Regions from separate parts of the Homo sapiens genome. Here regions 2, 3 and 4 are each linked to region 1. The links are contacts of gene promoters, found by promoter capture Hi-C in human tissues and cell types (Jung and others, 2019). All regions are on one chromosome and are shown on one strand. The core of a region is centred on a gene start or on the middle of the fragment in contact, and the rest is flanking DNA. Distances in the headings are between cores, read along the strand shown. Region 1 holds the start of APH1B (aph-1B gamma-secretase subunit). Region 2 overlaps USP3 (ubiquitin specific peptidase 3). Region 3 overlaps TPM1 (tropomyosin 1). Region 4 has its middle 31 kb from the start of LACTB.

The links. Contacts are between HindIII fragments. The study calls those that stand out against the background at their distance.
Region 2: a contact is called between a fragment that was not itself captured here and the fragment with the promoter of APH1B in region 1, in 2 of the 25 tissues and cell types used here (hippocampus and mesenchymal stem cells).
Region 3: a fragment that was not itself captured here is called in contact with the fragment with the promoter of APH1B in region 1 in 1 of the 25 tissues and cell types used here (mesenchymal stem cells).
Region 4: a fragment that was not itself captured here is called in contact with the fragment with the promoter of APH1B in region 1 in 4 of the 25 tissues and cell types used here (IMR-90 fibroblasts, heart right ventricle, lymphoblastoid cells and 1 more).

The regions. Positions count from the first base shown.
Region 1 is chr15:63,275,719-63,279,812 of GRCh38, forward strand. It overlaps APH1B (aph-1B gamma-secretase subunit), which reads left to right and starts at 1,887. Exons shown (of 6, transcript NM_031301.4): 1 at 1,887-2,018; 2 at 3,443-3,613. The coding sequence starts at 1,906. It overlaps LOC124903504 (a long non-coding RNA gene), which reads left to right. Exons shown (of 2, transcript XR_007064674.1): 2 at 300-1,134. RefSeq lists silencers at 1,414-1,833, 1,914-2,193. The HindIII fragment of the contact is 12,664 bases long and covers 1-3,977 here.
Region 2 is chr15:63,521,626-63,525,719 of GRCh38, forward strand. The region is part of intron 1 of USP3 (ubiquitin specific peptidase 3); the gene reads left to right. Among named protein-coding and RNA genes, the nearest start is that of USP3, 19 kb to the left of the region's middle. The HindIII fragment of the contact is 6,559 bases long and covers 1-4,094 here.
Region 3 is chr15:63,063,008-63,067,101 of GRCh38, forward strand. TPM1 (tropomyosin 1) reads left to right here. Exons shown (of 10, transcript NM_001018005.2): 9 at 1,057-1,135; 10 at 2,889-3,171. The coding sequence ends at 2,892. Among named protein-coding and RNA genes, the nearest start is that of TPM1-AS, 16 kb to the left of the region's middle. The HindIII fragment of the contact is 6,156 bases long and covers 1-4,094 here.
Region 4 is chr15:63,089,061-63,093,154 of GRCh38, forward strand. No RefSeq gene overlaps it. Among named protein-coding and RNA genes, the nearest start is that of LACTB, 31 kb to the right of the region's middle. RefSeq lists an enhancer at 1,286-4,094. The HindIII fragment of the contact is 4,531 bases long and covers 1-4,094 here.

The DNA of each region.
Region 1 (4,094 bases), core at 637-3,136:
AACTCGGGAGGCAGAGGTTGCAGTGAGCTGAGATCACACCACTGCACTCCAGCCTGGGCGACAGAGTGAGACTATGTCTCCAAAACAGTAACAACAAAATAACAAAATGGTACTCATTATCGTGTCTACTTTGCCATATTCTCTCCTCCTCCTGTCTCCACAGCATCCACTTAAGCCCGAACCCTCTAGAAGCCCTCATCCTTGACTCTTCCCCCATCTCACTCTATGTAGCTCATTAGTCACTAAATTCTGTTTGTACAATTCCTAAACTTCTATTAAATTTGTCTGCTTCCCTCCAGAGTCCTGCTAATTCCCTGAATCAGGCCACTGCCATCTCATGCCTGCGTTGCACTGAGGACCTCCAGTCTGGAAGCTCATTTTCCATATCTTTACAAAGCAGATCTATCACTCTGAACTGTTGTCTCGACCCGAGTTTTGATAGGTATTGTGCTGGGATCTGACCATTCAAAATACAATCACTGGAATCTGAAGAAGTATTCTGTGGGAGTGAATGGAAATATATATGACTTTTAAATGGGCAAAGGTAATGTTTTTCTGTAAGAATTAAATACCTGCAGTTGTATTATTTGAAGGTGCATTTTCAGGGGCGAGCTGCAAAACATCTGTCAGGTCCCAACATTTGTCTACTGGTGTTTTTTTAAATGTGGATTGCCAAAATCTTTATTCATGATGGACATTATGTAGGAGTGGTTAATACTTACATAGCACTTACCTGTGTCAGGCACACTGATCAAAATAACCGACGAAGTATTATTCAACATAAAGAAAAATCTAACTTGGATGTGAATGATCAGAGAACTTAAGTTTTAATTTTTAAACCTTTCAGAAATTGTTAATATAGATGTTTATAACTTCCACCTTTTAAATTATTTCACTTATTGAACAGATATTAGTGAACTTCTAGGTGCTGAGGAAACAACAAAGAGCAAAGCAAAGTCCCTGTCCCCCAGGAGTTCGCGTTTTAACGGGGAAGAAAAATAAGCAAGTGAAATGGACGACTGTGAGAAGACGGAGCAGGGAGATGTTACTATTGCTTGTAGGGTGGTCACAGAATGCCTGCAAAAACAACCCTTTTGAAGAATTGGGAAAAAAATAAAAACCATTTGGCTGAAACAGCCCTGAGAAGGGCAGCTTCTTCCACCACTCTTTCATCATTTTACCATCTGTGGGTTATCCCCGGGGTCACTGCTATCCCAGCCTAGGTTTTATACAGGATGGAGTACGAAGTTCCCGCAACTATCCAAACGGTAAAATGTGCTTAAAAAAAAAAAAAAACCTATTTAAAAAGGAATCCTGCTTGTTCCTGCGCTACATTTTTGTTTAGTCTCTTTGGTTGACTTGGAATCTCTGCCTGTTCTCGGTGCATGCGGCTCGAAGGTGGGCTAGGGAGCTTCCCTTCTCTTAACCACCTCGCGGCCGGCACTGGAACCCGATCGGAGTGTATCTGTGGGGCTGCGGCGATGGCTGGGGCCCTAACGTCGCCGAGGACGCCCGCCTCGGGAGCAGGAGCTGCGGCGTGGCCCTGGCGCTTCCGGACACCCGGTAGGGCGGAGGGCCCAACGGTGGGGTCCGCGCTCACCGCCTTGAGCCCGCCCCTGCGCCCGGCGCCCTCAGCCCACGCCCCGCCCAGTCCCCCAGGCCCTAGCGTTTACCCCCACGCCCCGCCTCGCCCCGCGACCCACGTACCCCGCCTCCGAGCCCCGCCCCCGCCCCCACGTGCCCCGCCCCCGAGCCCCGCCCCCGTCCCCGTGCCTGCCCATGAGCCGCGCCCCGCCCCCCGCGTCCCGCTTAGCCCCCCACCCCGAGCCCCACCCACCGAACCCCGCCCGCGCCGGGAGCATCTCGCGTCCCCAACGGGCCCCCGGGTCGGTTTCCGCGGTGGCCATGACTGCGGCCGTGTTCTTCGGCTGCGCCTTCATTGCCTTCGGGCCTGCGCTCGCCCTTTATGTCTTCACCATCGCCACCGAGCCGTTGCGTATCATCTTCCTCATCGCCGGGTGAGGCGGTCGCGTCGGGAAACCCGGACGCCGGGGCTCCCCTCCCCCGCTGGGGTTACCCGCGACCCTCGGCGCCCCCACCGCGCGGCTCGACCTTGTTGCGTTTCAGACGGGAGGAGGGTTGAGAGGGGGAGAGCGGAGATCCGGCTCCCCAAAGGCGCCTCGCCCTCTTAGGAAGAAGCGCACACTGGGGGTCAGGGCCTTTTGCCTGGGGCTCATGGGTGGGGTTTAGTGATCCGTGAAGCTACTAAAGTTGTATAAAAAAATTATGGATAAGTTCATATATGCATCCTTCATTTTCTGGAGGGGGAGTCCCTAATTTCCCTCAGATTCTCAAAGGCATGTGTAATCCCCAAAGGGTTAAAAACCATTGGCGTTTAGGATAGTAGTGCGCGACTTCCGCCTATTAGAATCACCTGTGGCCAGGTGCTTTAAAACATGCCGATGCCCACCCCCACCCCGATCCATTGAATCAGAATGTCTAGGGGATGGGATTCGGGCTTCAGAAAAAAAAAAAAAAATTTAAGCTCCTTTTGGATGGTTCCGTTGTGCAGCCGAAGGGTGGAAACCTGTAAAAACACCGAAGCACCTGACTGTGCGTCTCCTTCTGGGAGCTTGGTAAATACCGGACTCTGGTGTCCCATCGCAGTCATCACCTGCCTCTTACTTGCACATACCACATCCCCCCTCCTCTGATGAGTCTCTCTTGGCACCAGACTAGGCCAATGATTCCCGCTTTTCTGCGTTTCTTCACCTCCCACAAACGTATTGAAAGTGCTTCGCTGCATGTCATTTTAAAAATAATAGAGATTTGGGAAGGGTCTGTAAAGCTTGCTATAATCATTAGAATCCCCAGGGGTGCTGTAAGACCTGGAGGGCTTGGATACTGATCCAGATCAGAACACAGGTTTTCAAGTTGAATTTTATACCAGTCACTTTATTAATAGAGATGTAGATATTTTTCTGGAAAAGATACTCATCTTTGCAGATATCTGATCAGTAAATCCATAATTTCTTGTAAGTTTTAAGAATATGAAAATTGCAGTAATCAGGGTTGTGTATTTTCTTGTTTTGGCTCATCAATGGGCAGAGCATTGATTAGAAAGAGTAGCAAATAACCAAGTTTCTAGCTAGATAGTCCTTGGCAGATAGAGTCTGCAGATGTACTTGCAAGTAGCAGGGTCATTGAAAAAAGTAATTGTTGGGAAACCTCAGCCTTCCTCTTGGACACGTTTGTCTCACCAAGGAAAATGCACCGTTAAGAACAACTGATCAGAGTATCACTTTATGAGGACTTTCTTTTCCTTATTGAAACGTCAAGAAATCTCTTCCTTCTCAAGCAGGTTTTTTTTTTTTTCCTGCTTTTAAACATTATTAATCCTGTACTGATGTTCACTTGTAACTTTTTTTCCCGTATTTTTCAGAGCTTTCTTCTGGTTGGTGTCTCTACTGATTTCGTCCCTTGTTTGGTTCATGGCAAGAGTCATTATTGACAACAAAGATGGACCAACACAGAAATATCTGCTGATCTTTGGAGCGTTTGTCTCTGTCTATATCCAAGAAATGTTCCGATTTGCATATTATAAACTCTTAAAGTAAGTTAAATACCTGCCTTACCTTTTTTTTCCCCAGTTAGATTTTAGTTATGATTTGGTCATTTGAAACGTGAATATAGTATTGTATCTATGCCCTCCTACATAGTACTAAGCCAAGAGATTGGTACATTTCCAGCCTGAAAATCTTGAGTGTTCTTTTATCTTGTGGAAATTTCTTATTTCCTTCCTTTCTTCCTTTATTCAAAAAAATATTTCTTGAGAATCAATCCCAGACACTATCCTAGGTACTGGGGATACATCAGTGATTAAAAGACAGAGTCTCTGGCTTCATGGAGCTTATATTATAGTAGGAAGAGACAGACAATAAATGAATGAACAAGAAATACACTGGTATAGTAGGTAAGTGTCATGGAGACAAACAAGCTAGGGAAGCATTAAAACAACTACAGAAATCATTCCAGCTTAGAATGTATATGTTCTCTTTGCCACCACCTAAGTTAATTCTTTTTTTTTTTTTTTT
Region 2 (4,094 bases), core at 731-3,230, 250 kb after region 1:
GGTTCATTTTAAGCAGTTAACTGTTCCTTGTACACACTCATCAGTGCTTTTCTGTCAGCTCGGCTCAGACCAGCTGTTTCGGATACTTCTCTCTTCCATTTAATTTAATTCACAAGAGGTTCCTTCATGTTGAACTGTTGAGTGGCCACTCCCTGGAGTTATAGAATGGCAGTAGGACAAGACAATTATACATGGGATAGAAATAAGGATTTCAGCATCTGTTTTCTCTGATAGGCCTCAGAGGATTGATGGTTATGAACTGTAGATCGTCAGAGGAATGGCATCTTGGATTCCCAGATGCTGCTGCTGGTCTCCTCCGGTGATTTGTTTATTTGAGACAAAATCTTGCTTTGTTGCCCAGGCTGGAGTGCAGTGGCGCTATCTTAGCTCACAGCAGCCCTTACCTTCCACGCTCAAGTTATTTTCCCGTTGTAGAGGCGAGGTCTCACTATATTGCCCAGGCTGATCTGGAACTCCTGGTCTCAGGCGATCCTCCTGCCTTGGCCTCCCAAAGTGTTGGGATTACAGGCATGAGCCACTGTGCCCAGTCCTCTCAGGCGATTAATGACTTCTAGTCTTTTGTTCCAGCTAGTGAACATTGGAGTAGAAGGGAGACGTCCTCCTGCATTGCTAGATAACCACGTAAAAGGTTGGCTAGCATAGCTTCCCATCAGAGGGGCCACAAGTGGATTACATATGTGTTGAAATAAATGATCCCCTCAGCCTAGAGGTGGCTGTGCTCCCAGACAAATCATTTCTGGCTGTGAGAAGCCTCTTCAGTTAATGTGCATGTGTCATACAGATATTTTCTATGCGTGCCCTGACATGGGAAAGGTTGGGAAAGTAGGCTAAAGCACAGTCTCAAAATTAGCCTCTAAGGATGTTGCTAAACCAAGGATATTGCTCCTTAAAGAGAACCAGGTAATAGAGTGAAGAGGAATTGAATTATTTAGGGTAGAGGTTAAAACCTACTTGTCCATAAAGATAAGCTGATAACCATATCTTAAATCTGGTGTGATATGAAATTCTTACTCACTTCTTTGCTAAAACAAAGTTAGAAATTAAAATGTATTTCTAAGTGACTTGGCTTGTAACCCCATTTTATTGGATATTGGAATATAGAACAGTTCACATTAAAGAACTTAGCATCTTTGTTCATTTGAATTTTGACATTTTATTCATTGCTATACTGATAATGTACTGGCAGTGCACTAAATGAAGTAGATACCAAGGGTATATTATGGTTGATGAGATTAGTGAACCAGGATTTAATGTCTTTTCTGAATACTTCTGAGTTTGATGTATTCTAATAAAGTTTTGACACTTGAGTTGCTTCTGTACTTAAATGTTTTACCTGAGTGGCATTCTATTATCTAAACCTTATCTGTTAAAATGTGCTTCTAAAATGCATTTTTCCTGAAGTATTTTACATTAGATACGTAAAATTTAATGATTCTGACATTTAAGGTGGTTATAACAGTTACATCAATTTTGAAATAAGCTTATTAAAATTGAGTATTTGGTGTTTTGAATATAATTTAATTTAATTCTGGTGTAGGAGGATTTTGAGGGAATGGAACTGACATTCACTGAGTGCTTTCCGTTGATTAGGCCCTGTGCTGTGTGCACTTTATGTAGTTTATCTCATGAAATCTTTACCATAGCCATGTGAGGTAGAAGGTGGGATTTGACCCATTTCACAGAGAGGAGGCAGGCTCTGGAACGAACTTAGCGTAAGGTCATAGAATAAAATAGTAGAGCTACAACTTTAAGACAGTTGGTTCTGAAGCCCGTGCTTGATACAAGTCACATGACCTGTATCATATTTATTTTGAGTCTGCAGTGGAACAAATTCCTACAAAGGCAACTCATTCTGTTTGGTACATTTTTGTATAAAAGAGGGAAGGAATTCTTCTCGAAGGGTTCAAGGGCAGGTGATAAAGGAATTTGGCTAGTTCAGCTAAAACAATGTGGAGCAGAGTTTCCTGGTCACTGTGCCCCTTCCTTTTTAGGTCAGTTGTGGAACAATTTGCTAGGAATTTTGTGAGAAAATTGTGAGTAGTTCCAGCTTACAAAGGCCTGGGATCAGGCATTGCTGGGCATGATGGGGATCAAGTCATGCTGGCTGAGGAATATGTCAGAACTCTTGGGGTAAAGAGAAATAGAAGCAGAATGAGTAATGTTCTCAAGTCTTGTAATTATTTAGAAGCATTTTTCCAAGTTCAACCTTCAGTAAAGCCTGGGGTTTCCTAGAATGCTTATTAAGTAACATAATCCAAAGAAGCAAAAGGAAGGAAGGATAAGGATTTGTGCCTTTTAATGAAGACAAAAGGAATTTCTGCCACTGTTTATGGCACTTTCTTAAGAATCTTTACCTAGAATTTGGGATTTCTATGGAAATAGTGCTTTTGAAAATTTGAAGGTTTTAAACTTACTTGTTACTGAGTTATTGTTAGGAATGATGTTTGTGCTCAAGAATTAGGTTGTCCTGAGATAGAGGTGGCACATCTAGATTTGAGTTATTAAAATATTGATGTGATACACAAAGATTTAGTCCAAAGGACAGTGGCAGCTTAGTTGAAGATAAATATCAAGTCTTTACTCTCACTACTTCTGTTGTAGAGGGAGTAGTATAGTCATTGGATAGCTTTGAATCCTACTGGGTAAAACCTTCTGAAGTTTCTTTTGCATCCTCACTTTTCCTAAACAACAGGTCAGTCATTCCAGTGAGTTGTTTGGTGGGTGTGGATGATGCTGCATCACTGATACTGCTCCCTCTGTTAAGTGGTGGTCTGGTTATCTGTTGCTGCATGACAAACAGCCATACATCCTAGAAGCCTAAAGCAACCATTTCATTTTGCTTATAATTTTGTGGGCCAAGAATTCAGGAAGAACTTGCCTGGGATTGCATCAGGTGGAGAACGTGGACTCACAGAGTTACCAGACGTGTGTTAAGAAGACACTTTGGAGGAGGATGTTCTGGAGTCTTCTTAACTCACCTGTCTGGTACCTCTGTGCTCCTTGGTGTCTCTCTGTCCCCCAGTGGTGTCATAATCTCCCCAGTCTCCCTGCACATGGTTTGGGCTTCTCTCAGCATGTTGGTCTCTGGGTAATTAGACTTCTTACATGGCGGCTGGCTCTCCCAAGAGCAAGCATTTCAAGCAATAGCAAGAGGGAGCTGTGGATTTCATAAGGCCTGGAGTTGCAGGTTGACATAGAATCACTTCTGCCATATTCAGTGCGTTGGGGCAGTCACAGAGCCTGCCCAGATTCGGAGAATGAGGACATAGACCCTGTCTCTCCATGGGAAGAATGTCAAAGAATTTGTGGCCATCTTTAATCTACCACAAGGCCATTAAGCAAAAAGGAGAGGGTTGTTACAAGAAATGCTGAACTGACTTTACCAGCAAATGTAAGCCTACTTTATATAATGATTCAGAAGAGACTGATTGTCAGGAATAAGAAAGGGATAGAGGCAAAAGAGAGCCCCCAGAAGGAGGAAAGTGGAAAAATTTTTCATGGGAAAGTGGAAAGGCAACCAAGATAAACTTTGCTTCATAATTTTATCTTTCCTGCCTTGGACCTGAATTCAGTCTTGGTTCTGTGATCTTGCCCTTGAGTCCCAGGTGGCCACTTCTGACCACTTTGGATTTGGTGCTCATGCCTGGTCTCCTCCCCAGTATCAGGACCTCTGGTTGGCTTCCCAAGCTCTATATTGGTCACCCCTTTGACCCTAAGTATCTCCTGTTGCCCTTTATGAGAACTCTCCTGTTGCCCTGTTCCCTGGGAACCTAACCATCCTCTTTCAGAATGAGCAGCATTGTTGGGGCTGGGGAGACATCAGACACTGATTTTGGCTGCCCTCGGACTGCCTGGGCACCTTGGCAGTTGCTTCATGTAGCTTGATTCCTTCTTTTCTGGATTACATTATGGCTCAGTTCTTGCTCTCTTTTTGTGACTTTACCAACTCCTCCCCCTAATAATTTCAAGGGACTCAAGTTATAGATAGAAGAGACTTCTGAAATTTCAGCATAGAATAGGCTTGTGAACATGCAGTTCAGAGAGGATTTATAGTGTACAGAAGATTTTATGTC
Region 3 (4,094 bases), core at 848-3,347, 210 kb before region 1:
TTGTGGTCTTGTTTTTAGAAGAACCCATCTTCTTCCAAGTATGAATTCAAAGTAAGGATTTAGGGGTTATTTTAAGTCATATATTATCTTAACAAAATACTTTATATCCTGAAGGAGGAGGGAAAAATTATACTTAAGCATTTCTTCCCTAAGGCACTTAGGTTTTATTTTAGTAATAACCACTCTATCTCACAGATATCCTAAATGTTGAGCTTTGAAGCTTGTGAAGGATTAGCTGTGAACAAGAAAGAAAAAAGACAAATATCTACATCACAGAAGGGATTAGAGAAGGAACTAGTGTTTGGTGCAGATAATAACCAAAATAGTGGAGAAGAGAGAATGACAAATGGTTGCAAAATGATCTGCCAAAGTGCAGCAAAGTATGAAACCTGCAGCATTACAAAAACTAAGTTGCAGACTTGCCATATAAAGTGTGGCGCCCATTGCTTTTCAAGCCTCCTGGACCAGTAATAGGCAGCTTGAGTGGGAAGACCACAGGAGTAGCTTAAATGGCACTAAGAAATCGCTATCCCAGTGGTCTAGTGTGGTCAGGAAGTCAGTGGTTTGAAGGTGGAACCAGATAAGGACTACAGGCTGTAGTCACAAATTGTTCTTCCAAAACACTGCCCTTGCATTTTTTTCCCATTGTTTATAGCTGCAGATGCCTGACTACTCCAGTGTAATTAAAATATAGCTCTGCAAAAGAAAGATGTTCCATTAGCCCCTGCCTCCCCTCACCAGGAGACAGCCTTCTGTGGTTTCGTTTACAATTTAACATGGTTTACTGATATACCTACCATATTTGTTAGGATTTTCATATTGAGTCTTTTTCATTTTATTTTCTAATGGGTTTTGTTCTCTTTGTTTTTGTTTCAATTTACTTAAAACAAAACGCACGCCTCCTGCATTGGCCACCTGCTGCGGCACCAACCCCTTCATGCATTGCCCTTTTCTTGCTGCTGTGTTGGGATGGTGCGCGCACCACCCTCACTCACCCTCCATTTCTTGATCACTCTCCATGTTCTTGCACCTCTGCCTTCCACTTCCTGGTCATAGACGAGCTGTACGCTCAGAAACTGAAGTACAAAGCCATCAGCGAGGAGCTGGACCACGCTCTCAACGATATGACTTCCATGTAAACGTTCATCCACTCTGCCTGCTTACACCCTGCCCTCATGCTAATGTAATAAACTCACCACCATGCCTTCCTTGCTCCCTAATCTCCATCTTTGCACTCTTGTGTTCACCCTTTTTGTCATAACCTAGAATAGTCATTGTTTTTTCACTTTCTGCTAATATAAAGGCCAATTAGATTAAGTCTGTCTATACAAACCATTTTCTTTTCAGAATCCGTTTATTTTGTAAACGCTGAACTAGAGCAGTGAACTAGAATGAGTGACCTTGAGCACTGTCCTTTTGGGAAATTAAGCTAAACTCAAGTAAAACTAGAAGGCCATGCCGTTTGTTGTACAGGAACTTCTCAAAAAATATCAAAATTTGTTTCCTGAAATTCAACTAAGTACAACATAATCATTTTCGTTAAATATAATTTGAAGGAACCCTTAAAGTGTCAGGTTATTGAGAATCTGAGGATAAGGAAATTGGCATGATCCAATACAGCTTTAACAGTGGTACTACAAAAGATCATCTCTTTTACTTTTAAGAATTCTAGAGTAGGCCGGGCACAGTGGCTCACGCCTGTAATCCCAGCACTTTGGGAGGCCGAGGCGGGCGGATCACGAGGTCAGGAGATTGAGACCATCCTGGCTAACACGGTGAAACCCTGTCTCTACTAAAAATACAAAAAAAATTAGCCGGGCGTGGTGGTGGATGCCTGTAGTCCCAGCTACTCAGGAGGCTGAGGCAGGAGAATGGCATGAACCCGGGAGGTGGAGCTTGCAGTCAGCCGAGATCGCACCACCGCACTCCAGCCTGGACGACAGAGCGAGACTCTGTCTCAAGAAAAAAAAGAATGGTAGAGTAAAAAGAACCCTCTGCTGAGTAACCAAGCCTTTAATTTTGTGTTTTTATGAAAGGAATTAAAATACCCACGATAAATATTTACCACAACCTGTGTCAAATAAATGGGAAATTAAACACAGATTGTACAATGTGAGCTTGGGAGTTAATGGCCCAGATTTTACTGTTAGGCAGTAAGAGTTGGAGTAGGTAGTCTTGTTATCATGAGAAGAACCTTGAACAGATACAACTAATTTACATATTACTAACCAAACTTAAACATTAAACTTTTTCTACTACTTTAAATTCTAACCTGGAATGTTTCAGAGTTCTTCATTCTAATATCACCCTGAATTCCATTGAAGCTGGAAATGTCATTTTCCAAGCCCACCTGTCATTCATTTACCCATGCAGAAAAAATGGTAACTTGAAGAGAGTGGCATGTGCCTGCTGCCTTAGAGGTTATAGAATCCCCACAGTCAACAAAAAAGCCTCTAGAGACATGACTGTTGCCATGGAAACCAGAGAAAATGTGTCTTCTCATCCCTCATTTGTAAATGAGGGGGTGGAGCAGATCATCTGTCTCTAAGGTCTTTTTCAGTGCTAAAATGTGGTGATTCTTTGGGAAAAACTTTTTGCATCAAGTATGATTAAATATTCTGAAAGACGAGTGTAGCTTAAAATTTTTTTTGTTTTTAAATTCTGTTCATGGGTCTTCTTAAAATGGACCCTTGCCGAAAGGCGGCCTGTGACGGCCTCAGGTGGGAAGATGGATGTCCTTCCAAGGGTGTGGCTGGCAGTGGGGTTTGCATGACTGCTTCTTGTCTGTGTTTCAAGTGCTCTCATCTATTGGTTTGGTTTCCTTTCTTTTTTTTTTTTTTCTCATTGTGCCACTTTTTTTTTCCTCCCACCTTTTTATCTTCACGCAGATAAGTTTCTTTGCTTCACTTCTCCCAAGACTCCCTCGTCGAGCTGGATGTCCCACCTCTCTGAGCTCTGCATTTGTCTATTCTCCAGCTGACCCTGGTTCTCTCTCTTAGCATCCTGCCTTAGAGCCAGGCACACACTGTGCTTTCTATTGTACAGAAGCTCTTCGTTTCAGTGTCAAATAAACACTGTGTAAGCTATTTCTGTTTGCTATTCTTTTTACTTCTTATTTATTGACATTTTAGTTTCAACATTGAATAAAACTACAAAGCTGCTTCACACATATGAGGGTTAGTGTTTGGCTGCTGCTTTTTCTTTTTAAATACTGAACACTATACAGAATTATATCAGGAGTTTCTAAAGCAGTAGTTCCTTGTTGAACTTCAAAAAAATACCCAGGCCTGCATTCCCTCTCAGAGTTCTGATTTTCAAAGGTTAGAATGAGGTCTGGACATCTGGGGGGGTTTTGGGGGAATTGTGATGGCTCTGCTTTGCAGTCTGGGTCACACAGGGGACATTGCTTGTTGAGAGTTGAAAGGTCTGGCTTGATCAGTGTCTTCCTTTGCTGGAGGTTTAGCTCGGGATGTAGTGACCCCTCTGTGTTGATTATTTCGGTGGCCTTACTTGGGAGGACCTGGCTAACTAATGAAAGGCTCATGATGAATGGTTCTGTAGCTGTCCCATATTACTAGGAAGTTATACATTGAGAAGGGTGAAAAAGAACTTGGATTCAAACAATGTAAGTTTTGGTTATTGTCGATCATCCTTTTATAGCACAAAGAAAAGTTCAAGCTTTTTTGAAGTATATTCATGACTCAGCCACCTTTATTTTGATCATGAAAATGACATCTTAGGTTTTCTAAATATGATTACTCTGTTTAGTCGTGATTTGTTTTGTGCTTTTTAGCACATACTCTTTGGGAGGGATTGTACATAATCTTTGTGTTCAATGGCTGTGTTTTCATTTGTGGACATTTTTAAAATATAGCAATGAAAGTTTCTTTTTTTTTTTCCCAAAAAGATAGTTGGTGGAAATTGTTCAGAAGACAATTGTATTTCATTTGGGCTTCTGTTTTATTTCACAAACAGCAATTAAGTGATTTTTTTAAAAAAATACATTGCAAAAAATAGAACTTTAACTAATATGGACTTTAGTGTTATAATTCCCAACATTTCTCCTTCCTCAACAATCTAGCTATATATTTCTC
Region 4 (4,094 bases), core at 936-3,435, 190 kb before region 1:
ATGGCTGAGTAGCTGGGACTACAAGTATGCACCACTACGCCCAACTAATTTTACAAGTAGTAGTAGTAATAGTAGTAGTGCTGGTAGTAGTAGTATTTGTAAAGATGGGGTCTCCCTGTGTTGCCCAGGCTGGTCTCAAACTGCTGAGCTGGAGCAACCCTCCCACCTTGGCCTTCCAAGGTGCTGAGATTACAGGCAGGAGCCACACATCTGGCCTCATCTTATTCCTTTTTAATGGTGAGAACAGGCCAAAAGCAAGCAAAAGCCTTGTCCTGAGAGACGGTGAGATCCTCATCCTGGGAAGTGTCCAGCAGCAGCTCCTGCCCAGGAAGCTCTGGAAGGGATGAAGTCATCGGATAATGCTTGTGTAGAGATGGAGCAATGTTGCTCTGCAGATTCAAGGGGGATAGGGACTGCAGGCATTCCTGGCTGTTTGAAAGAGAAGCGGCCAGACAAGGGAAGTGGTTGATGTGATGCAGGCTCCCTGGAGAGCTGCCCTTGGCAGGATGTGGAGTGAGAGAGGGTGGGCACTGGGAGGGAAAGGGTGGAGCCAAGCAGATGGCAGGAGCTTACAAGGTATGTAAGTGACAGTTCTCCATGGTCCTCAGAATGTGTCCAGGTACCAACCTCATGAAATGTCCATGTAACAGTGAAGGAGCTGGGCTTTGCGGTCAGTTTTGATACCAGTGGAAACTGAAACACAGGCAGATAGACACACAGGAACAGGGAGCAGGGGATCAGAAAGATGCTGGGAATGAGGTGAGGGGTGGGGCAAAATCTTGGGAAGGGCTCTCAGCAAACACCAGCAGAGCCATCTGGTCTGCAGGGCCCCGGGGACAGGGCCTCTGGCCAATGAGCTTTTTTCAAAGGCCTGTGAAAATACGTGACATGCCAAAAAAAAAAAATTATTGAATCTAAAATATAAAAGGAAAAGTATGAAATTGAAAGGAATACATTTTAATTAAATGTCTATAAAACAAACAACGTCAATTCATTCATGTTTAAATTTAGTGTTTCTGGATTCTCTGTTTGAAAATAACGCTAAGGTTTTATTTTCTCCCTCCATAAAATGTACTGTGCATGCACAATGCCAGCCTGGAGAACATAGCCAGACATGTAGTCAATGAGCAGCTATAATTTCAAAAGCAAGATTAATAAAGTCCTTTTGATCCTTTCTACAGCAAAAATGTGATACTCAATGTGAAATATGGGTATATTCTAATGTGTTTGATATTATGTGGAATGCGGACTCCATAATTAAAAGACCCTGGGGCCTGTAATGGTCTTAAACTGGCCCTGGAATTGGGGTCCAGGCTAAATTGAACCAAATCTCTGAGAGGTGAAATGAGAGCCCAGCTGAAGTCTGGGTAATAACAGGATTAGATGGAACCTCAGAACCTTCCAATTCAGAGTCCATCTGAGCACAGGTGCTTTTAACCCTGAAGGGCTGTTCAGACAGATGAGCTTTTAGAGGGTGGACGTGAAGTTCTCTGGGAGGAAGAAGCACCTTTCAAGCGTGATGAACTGTTATGGTAGGTCTCCACTAGAGCTAATATAACTCAGGAAACAGAAAGTGAGCCAGACCAAGTGGGTGGTAAATGACCGCTTGGCTGGGGGCTGGTGGCTGATGGCGGGTGGCTGGTGCAGCGTCACTCAGCAGCGGTAGGTCTCCTGACTGCAGCTGGGATGTGCTGTCACCCACTCCAGCACTAAAATTCAACACTGATTGCCAATTCGCCTTTGAAGGGCGCATTATTTTCTTTAATGATTTTACTCTTACACTTGAGAAAAGGGAGGAGGAAAAAATTGCGTTCTCCAGACACCTCTTGCCCCCTCGTTCTTTGTCTTTGATCCTGTTCCCAAGCTTACGCCATTACACGCCCTCCCTGTCATGCCCAGCTGTGTGCCCTCCCTGCCCGGCCCTCCCCAGCCAGGTTTCTTTGGCTGTGAGGCAGCAAAGGTGCCCAGCAGACACCCCTTCTGCCCTCTCTCAGGCTGCGTTCAGAGCTGGGAGCAGAGAGGCCAGACGGAGGAGGATGCCACCCAGCCTGGCCGCACAGGGCCCAAGGTGACTGGGAGGACCCCGGCTTCCCTCTCACCCCACCCCAGGGGCTCCGGGCAAATGACCTCAGCCTGAAGCAGCCAGTGAGGAGGCGTTTGTAGGGCCACTGGGGTTTGCCAGCTCCTCACTGGCAGATGACCTGGGGGAAGCAGTTTAATAGGTGTGTGTGCCCTTCTATCATGCGTGTCAGTGACCAGAAAGGCAGAGACCAAAGAGCAAAGGTGAGTAGTGACCCTCTACCAGCGAGCAGGCATGGCCCTCCTTCCCTGAGACCCGTCCCCAGCCTTCCTACTCCCTCCATGACAGAGCACACACATGGCCACTGTGGTTTTCATAATAATGAACTCATAAAGAACTAAAATTCACCTAGCACTTTCCGGCTCCCAGAGAGCATTTCCATTTTATTTGATAGTGACAGTGATGCTGGGAACAAAGCAGGACAGACATCAGCACTGTCCCCATGTAATCAGTGACAACACGGTTCCAGGGTGCACTGGCTTGGCCAGTGTTCCGTGGCTAAGATGTGGACAAGCCCAGTGACATTCAAACCTGGGTCTTCTGACTCCAAGACCCATAGTGAGCGGGCTTCAACCCTAAGAACCAACAGGGAAGCACCAGCTCTCACTGAGGAGCCAACCAGGCAATGAGTGTGGATTTGGAGTTGGGATGCACACATGGTGAGTAGCCGTGACCCTAGAATCAGAATATCTGTCTCAAGAAGCTTTTGGGGCTCTTAAAATGCTGACATCATGTAAAGTCATTGACCTTCGGGGGGAAAGATCATTTTATTTATGGCAAGATTCAATGCACTCATTCATTCATGTGTTAATTAATTCAACAAGCACATACATTGAGCACTACTCCATGTTAATAGATGCGAGCCAATTTGCCAAAAAATCAGTGCACCCAAAGACCCAATCTGCTGAATCATTAATTCACTCAATTTAATCCATTTGTCAAATGATTAGTTCACTGATTTTTCCAAATTTACTTGTTGTAGTTGTAACAGCTTGAACAGTAATGTTTTAACAGTGAAAATGTTGGCCAAACAAAAATCTGTAGAAATTCATGTTTTGCAAGTGAAACCCTACCTTCTGGGCAGAATTCCAGCCTTGAACTATATGATAAGATTGTCTTAGGTACCTCTGGTTTCTTTACATGCTTTTGAATGTAAGTGTATATTTTCAAACTTGAAACACTTGAAATATTTTTTCATCAGTTTCTCAAAAGACATTTAATCCTTAACTTGATTGAGGAAGTGTGGAGAAGTAGCTACACAGAAGAACCTGGCCCTGGAGGCAGCCCTGCCTGGTGTGTGAGCCCAGCTCTGCCCCTGTCTTAGCTTTGGCACCTTGGTCGAGTGACTTACACATATGTGATGGGAGCTCGGCCATATCACTTACAAATACTAGGGGAAAAAAACACATCATAGTAATAACAAGGTTATTTCTAGGTGGTGGATTGTAAGTAAATTTACTTGCCTTTTTAAATACTTTGTATTTATTTATTTATTTTGAGATGGAGTCTCGCTTTGTCGCCAGGCTGGAGTGCAGTGGCGCGATCTCAGCTCGCTGCAACCTCCACCTCGCGGGTTCAAGCGATTTTCCTGCCTCAGCCTCCCGAGTAGCTGGGATTACAGGCATGCGCCACCACACCTGGCTAATTTTTGTATTTTTAGTAGAGATGGGGTTTCACCATGTTGGCCAGGCTGGTCTCGAACTCCTGACCTCAGGCGATCCGCCTGCCTCGGCCTCCCAAAGTGCTGGGATTACCGGCATGAGCCACCGTGCCTGTCTAAATACTTTTTGATGTTTTAAAACATCCCTTGAATAATTTTAAGTGTTCACTATGGAAGAGGAACCACACCAGATGGCTTCATATATATTGTTTTAAACCATGTATGTTGTTTTAAACTTCATGTATGTTGTCATAAACCCACAAGATAGGTAATATTATCACTCATTTAGAAAGAAACTGAGGCTCCAAAGCATTAAGTAACTTGCACAAATCCCACAACTCTAATGAGCCTGAC